2 separate regions of the Homo sapiens genome follow, and region 1 is linked to region 2. The links are contacts of gene promoters, found by promoter capture Hi-C in human tissues and cell types (Jung and others, 2019). All regions are on one chromosome and are shown on one strand. Each heading gives the region's core, a stretch centred on a gene start or on the middle of the fragment in contact. The rest is flanking DNA. Distances are from core to core; before and after follow the strand shown. Region 1 overlaps RASSF5 (Ras association domain family member 5). Region 2 holds the start of IL10 (interleukin 10).

Region 1 (2,760 bases), core at 219-2,718, 230 kb before region 2:
TTGACCTGTGTATCATTATGAAATGACCTTCTTTATCCCTGTTAACATTCTCTACTATGAAATCTACTTTGTCCAATATTAACATAGTTACTGCAGCTTTCTTTTAATTACCATTAGCATGGCATTCCCTAATCTACCCTTTCATTTTTAGGCTATGAGTCTCTTTATATTTAAAGATCATTTCTTATAGGCAGCAAATAGTTGGATCTTGTTTTTTTTTAAACCAATCTGCTCATCTCTACCCTTTGAGTATTTAGATCATTTGCATTTAATGTGATTATTGATATAGCTAGATTTTTTTTTTTTTTTTTGAGACAGTCTTGCTCTGTCACCCAGGCTGGAGTGCAGTGGCGCGATCTCGGCTCACGATATAGCTAGATTTTAAGTCTATCTTCTTACTACTTTTTTTCTTTTCTTTCTTCTTTTTCTATTTTTTTTTTTTTTTTTTTTTTTTTTTTTTTTTTTTTGGGACAGGATCTCATTCGGTCACCCAGGATGGAGTGCAGTGACACAATCATGGCTCACTGCAGCTTCAACCTCCCCAAGCTCAGGTGATCCTCCACTTCAGCCTCTCGAGGAACTGGGACTACACATGCACCACCACACCTGGCTGACTTTTTTGTACTTTTCGTAGAGACCGGGTTTCGCCATGTTGCCCAGCCTGGTCTCAAGTGATCAGGGGCTCAAGTGATCCTCCCACCTCAGCCTCCCAAAGTGCTGGGATTATGGGTATGAGCTACCGCACCCGGCCAGCTATTGGTTTTCTATGAGTATTCTATCTGTTCTTGGTTCACTTTTTCTTTTTTTCTTTCTTGCCTTCTTTTGGACTACTTGAATGTACTTTATGATTGCATTTTATCCCATTTGTTGCCTACAAGCTTTAACCCTTTGTTTTGTTATTTTAATGGTTGTCTTAGCATTTACAGTATATAAATGGTCCTTAATTTATGGGATTACATCCCAATAAACCCACTGAAAGTTGAAAATACCTGAAGTCAAAAATGCATTTAATACACCTAACCTACCAAACAACATGGCTTACCCTAGCCTATCTTAAATGTGATCAGAACACTTACATTAGCCTATAATTGGGCAAAATCATCTAACACCAAACCTATTTTCTTATGAAGTGTTGAATATCTCATGTAATTTATTGAATGCTGACCTAAATTATGGTTTCTATCAAATGTGCATCTCTTTAGCACCATCTTAAAGTTGAGAAATCATAAGTAGGACCGTTGTAAGGAGGGAACCATCTGTACATCTTTAGCTCATCACAGTCTACCTGTCAAATGATACTATGCCATGTCATGTATAGTATAAAACCCTGGCTAGGCACAGTGGCTCACACCTGTAATCCTAGCACTTTGGGAGGCTGAGGTAGGAGGGTCATTTGAGCCCAGGAGCTCGAGACCAGCCTGGGCAACATAGTGAGACCCTGTCTCTATTTTATACCAAAAAAAATTTTAAAAAAGAAAAGAAAAGACAAAAATGATAGTATCCTTCCATTTCTCATCTACAGACCTTTGTACCATTCTTGTCCTGTATTTTATTTTCGCATATACTACAAGCCAGGGGTCCCAGCCCCCAGGGCCACACACATGGCCTTTTAGGAATCAGGTTGCATAGCAGGAGGTGAGCAGTTGGAGAGCAAGCCACGCTTCATCTGTATTTACAGCCACTCCCCATGGCTTGCTTTACAGCCTGAGCTCTGCCTCCTTGTAGACCAGCGGCAGCATTAGATTCTCGGAGGAGCCTGAACCCTATTGTGAACTGCGCATGCGAGGGATCTAGGTTGCGTGCTCCTTATGAGAATCTAATGGCTGATGATCTGTCACTGTCTCCCATCACCCCCAGATGGGACCATCTAGTTGCAGGAAAACAAGCTCAGGCCTCCCACTGATTCTACATGATGGTGAGTTGTATAATTATTTCATTATATATTGCAATGTAATAATAATAGAAATAAAGTGCACCATAAATGTAATGCACTTGAGTCATCCCCAAACCACCAGCCCCACCCCAGTCCATGGAAAAATTGTCTTCCACAAAACCAGTCCCTGGTGCCAAAAAGGTTGGGGACCACTGCTATAAGCCCCTTACAATATTGTTACTATTTTATTTAAATGGCCAATTATATTTTAAAGAGATTTAAATGATAAGAAATTGTTTATTCATTTGGTTACCATTTCTGGTACTTTTTTTTCTTCTGGTAGATCCAGGTTTCCATCCGATATCATTTTCTTTCTGCCTGAAGGACTTTCTTTAACATTTCTTGTATTTGTGGGTGTGCTGATGATGAGTTTTTTCAACTTTCCATGTCTGAAAAAGTTCTAATTTCACCTTCCTTTTTGAGAGATTTTTATGGGATAGAAATTTCTAGGTTGGCACTTTTTTTCTTTCATTATTTTGAAGATGTTGCTTCACTACCTCCTCACTTGCATTATTTCTAACAATAAATTTACTGGTATCTTTATCTCTGCTCCTCTGTATATAACATATTCTTCTTTTTTCTTTTTATCGCTATGTATTAGTCTGTTTTGTGTTACTATGAAGGTATACCTGAGACTGGGCAATGTATAAAGAACAGAGTTTGACTCATGGTTCTGCAGACGGTACAAGCATGGCACCAACATCTGTTTGGCTTCTGATCAGGACCTCAGGAGGCTTTACTCATGGCGGAAGGTGAAGGGAGAGCAGGCATGTCACATGGTGAGAGAGGGAGCCAGAGAGAGAGGAGGAGGCGCCAAGCTCCTTTGA
Region 2 (2,700 bases), core at 1-2,500:
TTCTCCTTTTCAAAGCGAAGGAAACAAACCCAATTCCCTGCAATCAGGAAGCAGAGTCTCCCTTCCCTTAATCATGCTGCACACTCCCCCAGCACCCCGCCCCTGCTCTCACCTTAAAGTCCTCCAGCAAGGACTCCTTTAACAACAAGTTGTCCAGCTGATCCTTCATTTGCTGCAGGAAGAACAAAAGGAGAATGAACTTGAGGTTTGGGGAAATAACTGAAATGCGGTCTTTTTGATGCCCTTTCATTTAGAGATTTTTTTTTTTAAATAAAATTGGCTCTGGCCCAAAAAAATCAAAAGGGGAGTTTTAAAAACAGAGGATTCAACAGTGATGGGACCATCACTTAAATCAGGTCCTCCTCCTCAGAGTCAAGTTATTTAAAAAATCTGGCCGATTTTGAAGGGAAAGCAGAAGCTTGACTCAGTCCTGGTCTTCTTTCTGCGGAGCTACATTCGGCTTTAAGGGACACCTATGTCAACCCTTCGGGGCCTTGAGCCCCCCTCATGTCCTGTTCTCTGCTTTTCTTTCTCCCCACTGTAGACATCCAGTTTAGCTTGGAAAGATCCCAGGGATTAAGAAGCTCCTTCTAATGCAGGTTTCCCTCATGTAGAGTGCTTCCCTAAACCACTGGTCTTTCAGGTCTGGAAACGCTCTAAGCAGAGGCAATTTAAATTTCCCTGCTGCAAGGCATGGGGAGCATCTTCACCTCGAATCAGACATTTCTTTACTTCTCCTAGCCAATAAAGTATAGAGCGCCAGCAGGATCTTATAAGTTTCTCAGCACGAGAGAGAACGCATTTACTTTATAAGGCAGGTTTCCTGCACATTTACTGTATCATCTGGCTTAGCTTAACTCACCAAACCCATGGCTTGATCTAGGATTCTCTTAAGAATTTAAGTTTGGGGGAATAGGTGTTGGGGATGGAGGTGGAGGCGCAGGAGGAGGGTTCTTATAGTTCCAGGAGAATGTCTAGTTCAGGCAGTCCCAGGAAGAGAGAAAGGACAGGAAGGAATCATACTCACAAAGAAAGTCTTCACTCTGCTGAAGGCATCTCGGAGATCTCGAAGCATGTTAGGCAGGTTGCCTGGGAAGTGGGTGCAGCTGTTCTCAGACTGGGTGCCCTGGCCTGGGCTGGCCCTCACCCCAGTCAGGAGGACCAGGCAACAGAGCAGTGCTGAGCTGTGCATGCCTTCTTTTGCAAGTCTGTCTTGTGGTTTGGTTTTGCAAGAGCAAGCCCCTGATGTGTAGACCTTCACCTCTCTGTCCCCCTTTTATATTGTAAGCTCAGGGAGGCCTCTTCATTCATTAAAAAGCCACAATCAAGGTTTCCCGGCACAGGATTTTTTCTGCTTAGAGCTCCTCCTTCTCTAACCTCTCTAATAAACTTAGTTTTCAATTTTTGCATCGTAAGCAAAAATGATTGGTTGAACATGAACTTCTGCATTACAGCTATTTTTAGGATGGGCTACCTCTCTTAGAATAATTTTTTAGCTTCTCAATTAAAAAAAGTTGATTTCCTGGGGAGAACAGCTGTTCTGTGCGCAGAGGCCCTCAGCTGTGGGTTCTCATTCGCGTGTTCCTAGGTCACAGTGACGTGGACAAATTGCCCATTCCAGAATACAATGGGATTGAGAAATAATTGGGTCCCCCCAACCTGGGATGAATACCCAAGACTTCTCCTTGCTAACTTAGGCAGTCACCTTAGGTCTCTGGGCCTTAGTTTCCCCAAGTAAAAATGAGGGGGTGGGCTAAATATCCTCAAAGTTCCCAAGCAGCCCTTCCATTTTACTTTCCAGAGACTGGCTTCCTACAGTACAGGCGGGGTCACAGGATGTGTTCCAGGCTCCTTTACCCCGATTTCATTAGGATTCTCAGGCACATGTTTCCACCTCTTCAGCTGTCCCCCACCCCAACTGTGCTTGGGGGAAGTGGGTAAGAGTAGTCTGCACTTGCTGAAAGCTTCTTATATGCTAGTCAGGTAGTGCTCACCATGACCCCTACCGTCTCTATTTTATAGTGAGCAAACTGAGGCACAGAGATATTACATCACCTGTACAAGGGTACACCAGTGCCAACTGAGAATTTGGTTTCCTCACCCTACTGTACACCATCTCCAGCACATAGAATGAAACCTTGGATTAAATTGGCCTTAGAGTTTCTTTTAGTTGTAAGCTTCTGTGGCTGGAGTCTAAAGTTTAAAAGATGGGGTGGAAGAAGTTGAAATAACAAGGAAAAGAAGTCAGGATTCCATGGAGGCTGGATAGGAGGTCCCTTACTTTCCTCTTACCTATCCCTACTTCCCCTTCCCAAAGAAGCCTTAGTAGTGTTGTCTTGGATTTGTGTGTGTGTGTGTGTGTGTGTGTGTGTGTGTGTGTGTGTGTGTAGAAGGTAAGGGGAGCCAGTTGGGTTGCGGCGAGGAGTGTTGCTCTACCTGGGGAAGGACCGGGGCAGTGACATCAGGACTTCTTCAGATATCTGGAAAGTCTCTGGGGATCCTTTGATTGAGCCTTCACCTTCCCCTTCCACAGGGGCTTTGCCTGCCATTCCAGTTTAGACTGTAACTGGGAGGAACACTGACCTAGGTGCAGGAGGCCTGGGCTCTGCCTTGGCCCTGCCACTCTATAGTCAGGGCAAATCACTCATCCTCCCTGTGTCTGTTTTTCATCTGTCCCAACAGGGCAATAGCACCTGTCCT

Evidence for each region. Contacts are between HindIII fragments. The study calls those that stand out against the background at their distance.
Region 1: a contact is called between a fragment that was not itself captured here and the fragment with the promoter of IL10 in region 2, in 1 of the 25 tissues and cell types used here (bladder).

The regions. Positions count from the first base shown.
Region 1 is chr1:206,545,660-206,548,419 of GRCh38, forward strand. The region is part of intron 2 of RASSF5 (Ras association domain family member 5); the gene reads left to right. Among named protein-coding and RNA genes, the nearest start is that of RASSF5, 40 kb to the left of the region's middle. The HindIII fragment of the contact is 6,695 bases long and covers 1-2,760 here.
Region 2 is chr1:206,771,244-206,773,943 of GRCh38, forward strand. IL10 (interleukin 10) reads right to left here and starts at 1,251. Exons shown (of 5, transcript NM_000572.3): 1 at 1,028-1,251; 2 at 113-172. The coding sequence starts at 1,192. The region is part of intron 1 of IL19 (interleukin 19); the gene reads left to right. RefSeq lists cis regulatory regions at 880-1,501, 962-1,501. The HindIII fragment of the contact is 3,211 bases long and covers 1,192-2,700 here.